Regions from separate parts of the Homo sapiens genome. Here region 1 is linked to region 2. The links are contacts of gene promoters, found by promoter capture Hi-C in human tissues and cell types (Jung and others, 2019). All regions are on one chromosome and are shown on one strand. Each heading gives the region's core, a stretch centred on a gene start or on the middle of the fragment in contact. The rest is flanking DNA. Distances are from core to core; before and after follow the strand shown.

What was found. The method cuts DNA at HindIII sites, captures the fragments that hold promoters and counts their contacts. A contact is called where the count stands out against the background at its distance.
Region 1: a contact is called between a fragment that was not itself captured here and the fragment with the promoter of RBBP9 in region 2, in 1 of the 25 tissues and cell types used here (aorta).

Annotation. Positions count from the first base shown.
Region 1 is chr20:17,548,373-17,553,937 of GRCh38, forward strand. It overlaps a transcript of BFSP1 not described here. Among named protein-coding and RNA genes, the nearest start is that of DSTN, 19 kb to the right of the region's middle. The HindIII fragment of the contact is 4,704 bases long and covers 1-3,858 here.
Region 2 is chr20:18,494,693-18,500,051 of GRCh38, forward strand. It overlaps RBBP9 (RB binding protein 9, serine hydrolase), which reads right to left and starts at 2,533. Exons shown (of 5, transcript NM_006606.3): 1 at 2,377-2,533; 2 at 1,146-1,188. The coding sequence starts at 2,475. RefSeq lists enhancers at 2,086-2,135, 2,306-2,465, 2,318-2,882, 2,486-2,535, 2,636-2,695. The HindIII fragment of the contact is 15,876 bases long and covers 1-4,252 here.

The sequences.
Region 1 (5,565 bases), core at 257-2,756, 950 kb before region 2:
AATAATAATTATTTGCCTTACAGGCTCTCTTAAACTGGCTTTGCTGAAACTTTTTACATAAGAAATCTCAGATTCAGACTTGTTAAAGCCTCAAGCCCAGCCACAAATTTATCTGTTCCTGCAAATACCTGTATGAATTGGGTGAATTCCTCTCCTCTGGAGGTCCCAAGATAACTTGGGGTTCTTGGGCCATTAGAAAGTGACATTCTTTTCTCACCAGGTACAGAGACTGCATAGACCGAGTATGATGCCAGTCTTCTCCAAGGGGCTTTTATCAGTTCTTGGAGTCAACCTCAATTTTTAAAAAATCAGTCTAAAAGCATAACATTTCAGTCAAAGCCTTGGTAAAATAACCAGTCTCCAACTGTGTATTTTTACAAAAGAAAACAGATTCTTATACTTATTGTTTTTTGGTGGTGGTAGTTTTGTTTGTTTGTTTGTTTGTTTGTTTTTTAGATGAGGTCTTGCTCTGTCACCCAGGCTGGAGTGCAGTGGTGTGATCATAGCTCACTATAGCCTCAAACTCCTGGGCTCAAGGGGTCCTCCTGCCCTTGCCTCCCAAATAGCTGGGACTACAAGCACATGCCACCACATCAGGCTAGTTTTTAAATTATTTTTTGTAGAGATAGAGTCTCACTATGTTGCCCAGGCTGGTCTCAAACTCTTTGTCTCAAGTGATTCCCCTGCCTTGGCCTCCCAAACTGTTGGGATTATAGGTGTGAGCCACTATGCCAGCCCCATATTTCCCTTTTGCAGCACTTGATCTTGGCTGCATGAATCCAGTTGCTTCTGTGTTTTGCCATGTTTGTTATTCCTTCTCAGCCTCTAGAACGAATCCTCTTAAATATCACATCTTTGAATTACTGGGGTTCCTGGTTGTATTAGTCTGTACTCGCACTGCTATAAAGAAATACCAAGACTGAGTAATCTATAAAGAAAAGAGGTTTAATTGACTCATGGTTCCTTAGGCTGTACAAGAAGCATGGCAGGTTCTGCTTCTGGGGAAGCCTCAGGAAACTCACAATCATGGCAGAAGGAAAGCAGGGGCAAGCACGTTTTACATCACCAGAGCAGGAGCAAGAGAGAGAGTGGGGAGGTGCTTCACACTTTGAAACAAGCAGATCTCATGAGAACTCTATCACGAGAACAGCACCAAAGGGATGGTGCCAAACCATTCACAGTCCAGGCACAGTAGGCTCATGCCTGTAATCCCAGCACTTTGGGAGGCCAAGGAGGGTGAATCACTTGAGGTCGGGAGTTCGAGACCAGCCTGGGAAACATGGTGAAACCCCGTCTGTACTAAAAATACAAAAACTAGCCTGGCGTGGTGGCACACACCTGTAATCCCAGCTACTCAGGAGGCTGAGGCACAAGAATCACTTAAACCCGGGGGGCAGAAGTTGCAGTAAGCCAAGATCGTGCCACTACACTCCAGCCTGGGAAACAGGGCAAGACCCTGTCTCAAAAATAAATAAATTAATTAAATAAAAAGTAAACCACTCATAAAGGATCTACCCTTATGATCCAATCACCTCTCACTAGGTCCCATCTGCAACACTGGGGATTACAATTAGACATGAAATTTGGGTGGGGACATAGATCCAAACCATATCACTAGGAGATCTGTCCCAAGCCCACTTCTCTATTTACCCTCAGAATAGTTCTCAACCTTTCCAGGCCATGAGGTAGTACCACTCGGGATTGCTTTCAGATGCACACAACAGGCTTACCCACATCAGGATTATTTTTCTCTAATTGTTGCCAGGAAAGGGATCCTGACCCAGACACCAAGAGGGGGTTCTTGGACTTTGTGCAGGAAAGAAGTCAAGGCAAGTCACAGAGAACAGTGAGAAGAGAAAGCTTATTAAAAGCCACTTAGTTACAGAGTAGGGTGTCCTCAGAAAGCAAGAGGAGAAATGTCTCATCTTTGTTTTAAATTTTTCTTATATAGGGTCTTACCTATATAAAAGTTAAGCTATATCTACCTGTTGGGGGGCTGACAGTGTCACAAGATTTATTAGTTTGTTGATTTAAAGAAAACTGTTCTTGGCATTTTAGTGCATAAGTACATCAAAGCATGACTATAATCCTTTTTTTTTTTTTTTTTTTGAGACGGAGTTTCACTCTTATCTCCCAGGCTGGAGGGCAATGGCGTGATCTCAGCTCACTGCAACCTCTGCCACCCAGGTTCAAGCTATTCTCCTGCCTTAGCCTCCTGAGTAGATGGAATTACAGGTGCCCATCTGCCCACCACCACACCCGGCTAATTTTTGTATTTTTAGTAGAGATGGGGTTTCACCATGTTGGCCAGGCTGGTCTTAAACTCCTGACCTCAGGTGATCCACCCGCCTCGGCCTCCCAAAGTGCTGGGATTACAGGCGTGAGCCACCGTACCTGGCCAACTACAATCATTTTAAAAGCATGTATTATTATGCAATACCAGGACATCTGGACATTTTTTTCTGTCATAGTTTATCCTTGCAGGCATTGTTAAGCTGTTTCCTCAGCTGTAAACATCATATAACCACAGGTCATGATAGACAAGAAATGTGCCTTGCCAGTTTTACGATGGAGTTGATTTTAAAATGGTGCCACTCTGGCTCTCCTATGCTCCTGCTTCCCTAACATGATGACATGCAGTCCAGAGGTAGGCAGTTCAGGGCGAGTGTGGTGGAGCCTTCAGTCCCAGGTTCATTCCAACTCTTCACTCTGCTGGCTTTAGTATGTGGCTTAGTGCCTGTATTAGGCCATACTTGCATTGCTATAAATACCTTAGACTGGGTAATTTATAAAGAAAAGAAGTTTAGTTGGCTCACGGTTCTGCAGGCTGTACAGGAAGCATGGCACCAGCATCTGCTCGGCTTCTGAGGAGGCCTCAGGGAGTTTTTACTCATGGTAGAAGGCAAAGGGGGAGCTGTCTGGTCACACAGTGAGAGTGGGAGGAAGGCAGAGAGGTGCCACACACTTTTAAATGACCAGATCTCTCAAGAGTTCACTCACTGTCACAAAGACAGCACCAGGGAGAAGGCGCTAAGCCGTTTATGAGTGATCCACACCCACGATCCAATCACCTCCCACCAGGCCCCTCTTCTAACATTGGGGATTACAATTCAACTTGAAATTTAGAGGTGACAACATCCAAACTATATCAGTGCTCAAGCTCACAGATGGCTGCTACCCTTAGGTATCACATCTGTACCTGAAATCACTTGTACATCTACACCACCAATCTTATTCATGTATTTATTCAACAAATATGTATTGACAACCTACCCTGTGCCAACACTCTTCTGGGCCTTGGGATACAGAAGTGAAAAAAATAAAATAAGGCTGGGTGTGACGGCTCACACCTGTAATCCCAGCACTTTGAGAGGCAGAGGCGGGTGGATCACCTGAGGTCAGGAGTTCAAGACCAGCCTGACCAACATGGTGAAACCTCGTCTCTACTAAAAATACAAAAACATTAGCTGGGCATGGTGGCGGGCACCTGTAATCCCAGCTATTCAGGAGGCTGAGGCAGGAGAATTGTTTGAACCCAGGAGGCAGAGGTTGCAGTGAGCCGAGATCACACCATTGCACTCCAGCCTAGGCGACAACAGCAAGACTCTCTCTCAAAAAGAAAAAAAAAGAAGAAAATAAAAATCCCTGATCCCTGTTCTTGTGGAGCTTATATTCAATTGGAGAAAACAGAAAGTAAATAAGATAAATAAGTGAAAAATAGAGTATAATAAGTGGTGATAAGTGTTACAGAGAAAAATAAAGAAAAGGGAACTGGGAGGATGGTGGGGCATCTGGTAATTTTAGACAGGGTGGTCAGAGAAGACCTCACTGAGGAGGTTACATCTGAGTAGAGAACGGAAGGAAGTGATGGGAAAGCCATTTGGATTCTTGAAGAAAGAGCGTTCTAAACATGGGGAAGAATAAATATAATAGGATGTGCCTGGTTTGTTCAAGGAAGGGTGCAGAGGCCATCATGGCAAGAGTGGGGCAGGTGAGGATAGAGTGCGGGTCAGATGAGGTCAGGAAGGGCAACGAGAGGACAGATCCCACGGGATTTCTACAAATCCTCCATAAGGATTTGGCTTCACTGTGAGAGTAAAGGGAAGCCTTTGATAATTTTGGCAAGGAAGTGGCATAAACTGACCTACAACTTAACAGCATGGCTTTCATGGCTGTGCTGAGAATAGCAGAAGCAGAGAGACCAGCCAAGAGACCATTGCAGTAATCCAGTTTAGAGGTGATGGTGAGTTAGACCAGGGTGATAGCAATGGAGGTAATGAGGAGTGATAGAATTCTATATATATTTTGAGGGTAGAACCAACAGAATGTACTGATGTGGGATGTGAAAGAGAAGAGACAAGGATAAAATCTGAAGCTGGAAGGATGAAATTGACATTTACAAGATGGGGAAGACTGGAAGTGAAGCAGATTTGGGGGAAAAATATCAAGATTTCTGTTTTAATTATGAGAAGTTGAGATGTCTATGAAACATCCAAGGGCAAGTGTTGAATAGACAGTTGCATCTACAAGTCAGAAATCTGGAGAGAGGTCAAGGACAGACATAAATTTGGGAACCAACAGCAGAGAGAAGATATTTAAAGTCATGAAACTGAATCAGAAAACTAAGGGAATTAGTGCAGAGAGTAAAGAGAAGAAGTCTAAGAACTTAGTATGCATGGGGACTCTGGAGATCAGCGGTTAGGAGATGAAGAGGAACCAGCAAAGGAGCCTGAAAAGGACCAGATAGGTAGGTGGAAAATCAGGAAGAGTGTGTGGGATTCCGGAAGCCAAGTAAGTAAAGTGTTTCAAAGTGAAGAGAAGATATGACTGACTATGTTGTATGAGATGAGGACTAAGAATTGGCCATTGGATTTAGCAATGTGACGTTCCATGGTCATATGAGTAAAAGCAGTTTCAGGAAAGTGGTGGGGAAGAAACTATGAGGATGAAATGCCAAACTCAACAAGAACAACTAAAATCCATGGAATAAAATTCACAGGGTAGACAAAAAAACAAAAACAAAAATCCTCAATGAAAGAACAATTACTTCAATCAACAACTTCAACAAATATTTAGTGTTTATCATCTATGTGCCAAGTGACATTCGAAAAATTCATTGGCAATTCAGTGATGAAGAAAACAAAGTACCTATACTTATGGAGCAGATATTCTATTAGGGTTAAAGAGACAGTAAACAACTAAACAAATATACAGTGTGTCAGTTGCTGATAAGTGCTTCAAAAATCATACAGAACAGAAAGAGGATAGACAGTGGAGGCAAGTGGGGTGGCAAACTACTTTAGATAAGGTGATCATCAAGGCCTTTCGGATTTATTAGTAGAGAGCTCATCTTATACCAGTTAGAATTGGGATCTTTGAAAAGACCTGTTAAAAATATATAAACATATATATATATATATATACACACACACACACACACACACACACACACATATATATATATACACATATATATACATATATATACACATATATATACATATATATATATACACACATATATATTTCTGATGGCAAGTCTGAGTAAATACAAGAGAAGTCACA
Region 2 (5,359 bases), core at 1,283-3,782:
AAAAAAACTCTTGCAACATTCTAAAATTCACATTTATTCATTCTTTCCAAAAAGGGGATTCCTGAGACAAGTCATAGGCATACCCAGAACAAAAGTAGCAATATGACATTTTTAAACATTAGGACCTCAAATAGATGCTGTAAAGTTTTATACCTATGCCTCAAGTATAGTACCCACAAATTCTGCCTGAAAATATTTGTAGACATATAGAAGGGAAAAATCAAGTTGGTGCAAAGTTGAAAATTAAATTTTACCATGCCCAGGTGCTTTCCTAATCCTTACTAGAATTTTCTATGGCTTACCCCATCCGGGAGGTGAGGGGCGCCTCTGCCCGGCCGCCCCTACTGGGAAGTGAGGAGCCCCTCTGTCCGGCCACCACCCCGTCTGGGAGGTGTACCCAACAGCTCATTGAGAACGGGCCATGATGACAATGGCAGTTTTGTGGAATAGAAAGGGGGGAAAGGTGGGGAAAAGATTGAGAAATCGGATGGTTGCCGTGTCTGTGTAGAAAGAGGTAGACATGGGAGACTTTTCATTTTGTTCTGTACTAAGAAAAATTCTTCTGCCTTGGGATCCTGTTGATCTGTGACCTTACCCCCAACCCTGTGCTCTCTGAAACATGTGCTGTGTCCACTCAGGGTTAAATGGATTAAGGGCGGTGCAAGATGTGCTTTGTTAAACAGATGCTTGAAGGCAGCATGCTCGTTAAGAGTCATCACCACTCCCTAATCTCAAGTACCCAGGGACGCAAACACTGCGGAAGGCCGCAGGGTCCTCTGCCTAGGAAAACCAGAGACCGTTGTTCACTTGTTTATCTGCTGACCTTCCCTCCACTATTGTCCTGTGACCCTGCCAAATCCCCCTCTGCGAGAAACACCCAAGAATGATCAATAAATAAATAAATAAATAAATAAATAAATAAATAAATAAAAATGACAAATTCACAGAATTGAAAAAAAAAAAAAAAAAAGAATTTTCTATGGCTTTTGGTTCACACCCTCCTCCCCAAGCTGCTTGCCTTATTCTTTCTTAGGTATATAGGCATCTTTGGTTCCTCCACTATGATATTCTTGTTCTCTACCACAAAAATGGTAATATCAAAACCCAACAAGATGAGGCTATTTAAAAACAAGTTTAAAACTTACTTGGGTCGGGCATGTTTTTAGCCAAACACTGGAAACCAGGTATCTATGATATGAGGGGGGAGAAAAAGCTATAATAAAGAGCTTAATTACAACTAATACTTTGCTAATAAGAAATGAGGCACCTGATATGATCGTTACCAATTCAGTATTAACTTGTGTTATGAAATGAAGTAGGTTAAGTGACCATCTTTTCGCATGAACTCCATCTGTAGTTCTGTATCTAGGCAGCTCTGCTGATCTCTATAGAGAGACCTATATCTGCATTTGTACACCCATATTTGCCTCTACAGGCCTGCATCTATAGAGAGGCATGAACAAATGTGTTCTAGACAGACTGACCTGGAGCCAAATAGACTGTGTTCCAGGGAGTAGGTAAAACGTGGCACAGGAACGTGATACAGAAATTTGGAGACAGCATACTCTCAGAAGCTCCAGCCCTGACCTTTGGGGTTGTAACTCTGACCAGGGTTTTCAGCCACAGCGCTGCAATCTATTCTGGAGACCCGCTCTAGAGGACAGCAACCCAGGGAGCCGACTTACCGCCTGGTTACAGAAGAGGGTTAAAAAATAAAAATCAAACGGCACAGGTCAGCCTACAGTAAGATGCCACTTTTATAAAGCTCACCAAGAAGCCAAATAGAACAGTCTGTTGTTTAAAAGGTATATTCATAGGTTGAAAAGTACTTCAATTTTAAAAAGAGAAGCAGATGAAAAAATTCAGGATGGCACGGGACTGAGATGGGTAGACATAAGGGTCGTTTGGAAGATGATGTATAGGCAATGTCCCAGGTTTTAGTTTGGTAATTCATTACATTATGCCTCATAATGTAGACGCATGTTACGTATATCCTTTGTATATATTAAGTATAGCATATTTAATTTTTTAAAAGCTGAAGCGGGAAGCAGTGAACATGTAAAATTATCTGGGAAGTCCCAAATCTGAACCAGCAGCAGATACGGGGGGCGGGGCTCAGGGGCTCAGCCTCGGTAGTTCAAAGGGGTTCCTTTAACTCTAAAGGCTGAGCCCTCAGAGAAGTCTTCCAGGCAGTTTTACCAGTCAAAATTCGACCACTAGCTCAGACTTTAAGAGAAGGCAGCGGGGGAGAGGCAGGAAAACACACAGGGCTTTGCTAGAGGGGATTAGACGCCTATTCAAACTTCAGCCCTCAGTCCTCTCCCGCCGTCCCTCCCTCCAGGCTGACTTCACGGAGCAGCGGCGTTGGGCGCTTACCTTCTCCAGCTCCTTTTTCACCCAGCCATACCAGCCGTGGGTGGTCACATCCCCGCCTCCGTTCCCGGGAACAATCACTGCCTTGCTAGGAGAAGCCATGAGTGCAGCGAGGCCAGAGTTCCCCAGCGCGGGTCCAGCGGAGCTGAGCCCAGCCTGCTCCCGCAGGGAGCCTGCGCCGCGGCATCCTGGGAGTTGTAGTTGCGGGGACCTGGGAGGCCGGGCTCTTTCCTCCTTGGCCTGCCTTCCGCTGGCTGCGTGGGGCAGCCAAGAACAAAGCCTGCGAGCTTCCATCAATTGTAAAGCAAAGCACCCTTTACTTGCCTCTTACTAGTGCTCTCATGTTTTTCCCTTATTTAAGACAGGCTATGACACGGTTGGGGTGTGTTATTTCTTTGCTAGATTTACTGATATTTCTATAGGAAAGTTTGTTTTTGGTTTCAAACATGCAGAAAACCCATTTATAACCTGGGAACGCCTGAAATCCATATTATTTTTCCTTCTGAGTTTAAAACAGTTTTTAGTAGTCAGTATCAGCCCTGGTTGTTGTTTTTCATTGCTTTGAATGAAATTTCCTTGCATAAAGCTACTAACCCAAGTAAAACAAGCAAAAATTTAATTAAATACCAAGAAAATACTTCGTCAGATTTTCATATTAAACCAGCTGATACTGAAATTGTTTAAAATAGTTTATAACCAATGCTTAGTCCCATATTCCTGGGAAGACAAACAAAGCTTCATGTACATTTGGTCACCGGGTGGGCCATTTAAACATTTTGTAAGGGGATTTCATTCAATTGTTATTTGAATTCCAATTTGTCATTCTGGTTGTATAAAAGCTTTCCCATGCAAGAGGGCTGATGTTATAACAGTAGATTATTATGCTACAGTGTATTTTCCCCCGGTAAAGAAAGCTTTTTATGGTTTGAATTTTCTGGAAACATTGGAGAAGACTGTCCTTGTCATCCACACTACAACAAAACTTCAGGACCTTGGGCTTTGGGTTCATGGTCTCGCAAATGAGAACGGTCCCTCCACACTTTTGGAACAGTGCACCCATTGGAACTTTTGAGGTAAAGCTACCCTGGGAAATTTCTCCCAAGAAGAAAATGGCATCCTTGATGTGAACAGCTTTTCCCAAGTTCACAGATTAAGACTTCTACTACCATGAAACTCTTATCTTTCAATATTTTTTGTCTTCCTTATGCCTCTACAAACAATAGAAGTGGAAAAGGGGTCTGTTATGTGCACTTATGGGGTATACTTTTATTTGTGAAGGAGTTTGCAGCCAGCCTTATACATGGATAAACTTAGACTTTGATAGATAAAAGATGAAGGCCCGAAGTAGGTAAGAAACTTTAATGGTACATGCATTGCTTCATAATCAGTCAAAAACAAAACATTGGTTCACTCCTCTAACCCACATCATGGGTTAAAGAAAACATTGCCAGTAGGCCTTCACTCTTCTAGAAAGGCATCATTTGTTAGGTCCTTTTACCATGGTTTGAAGTAAAAGAAGCAATGATTAGAAATGTATCCCTCATTGGCTGGGCGCGGTGGCTTACACCTGTAATCCCAGCACTTTAGGAGTCCGAGGCAGGCAGATCACCTGAGGTCAGGAGTTCAAGATCAGCCTGGCCAACATGGCAAAACCCCATCTCTACTAAAAATACAAAAATTAGCTAGGCGTGGTGGCAGGTGCCTGTAATCGCAGCTACTCAGGAAGCTGAGGCAAGAGAATTGCTTGAACCCGGAAGGCAGAGGTTGCAGTGAACCAAGACTGTGCCACTGCACTCCAACCTGGGCGACAGAGCAAGACTCCGTCTAAAAAAAAAAAAAAAGGAAAAAAGAAAAAAATAAATTCAGTGGTAGAGGATTAACGAAGAAATTGCTTAGTCAAGTGAGTAAACCCTTTATCTAGCTCATTCTTTGATCTATTTGATTTTAGGAGGTTTGGTTTATCGGGGCCTTGGGTTTAGGAGCATACCCCGAACTCTTGGTGTTATCCTCCCAATATTTATAATAATAGTCTCCCTGGTGTGCTGTATTCTCTCAAAGGTTTTAAATGTTTGCACGCGGTCATCTCTAGAACGTCAGATGTTCTCTCTTCAACTGGAATGACAAAAGCTGAAAGAAATGTGCAACCATGAGAACACCAAAACCTATAAATGATGTGCTGAGACCGAAACCCAAAATGATGGTAACTGAGAGTGGCGCTAAGGCCCTAAGTTTTGGTCACACTCTCACCTAAGTGAGAACCTGACCAAAAAGGGGGAATTTTTTGCACAAAATTTTGCGAGGCCATTGTTTTGGACTAAGCTCATGCATTAGGCCCCAACAAACCAAACCAAACCAAAATGGAGTTGCTTGTGCTAAGACTTCAAGGAAACATAGATTCTAGAACAGACTAGGTTTTGTTTTTTTTTCTGCAAATCTCTATAACAAACATCTCTGACAGCGTAGGTATCCACCCCATGAAGTTCCCATTAAATCTTTTTTTTTTTTTTTTTTGAGACGGAGTCTCGCTGTCGCCCAGGCTGGAGTGCAGTGGCGCAATCTCGGCTCACTGCAGGCTCCGCCCCCTGGGGTTCACGCCATTCTCCTGCCTCAGCCTCCGGAGTAGCTGGGACTACAGGCGCCCGCCACCTCGCCCGGCTAATTTTTTGTATTTTTAGTAGAGACAGGGTTTCACCGTGTTAGCCAGGATGGTCTCGATCTCCTGACCTCGTGATCCGCCCGCCTCGGCCTCCCAAAGTGCTGGGATTACAGGCGTGAGCCACCGCGCCCGGCCATCCCATTAAATCTTTTAACCAAATTAATTTCCTCTCGTCTGGAGACCATCAAGCTTCAGATGATCATGCAACAAAGGTTCCAGCCAGTTCCAGGTGAAGACACCACCCCTAGCCATCAAGAAACTACCCTGCCTCCACTAGATAGAGCAGGGCGAGTTCCATGATCACCAGTAGGTAGGGACTACACCCCAAGC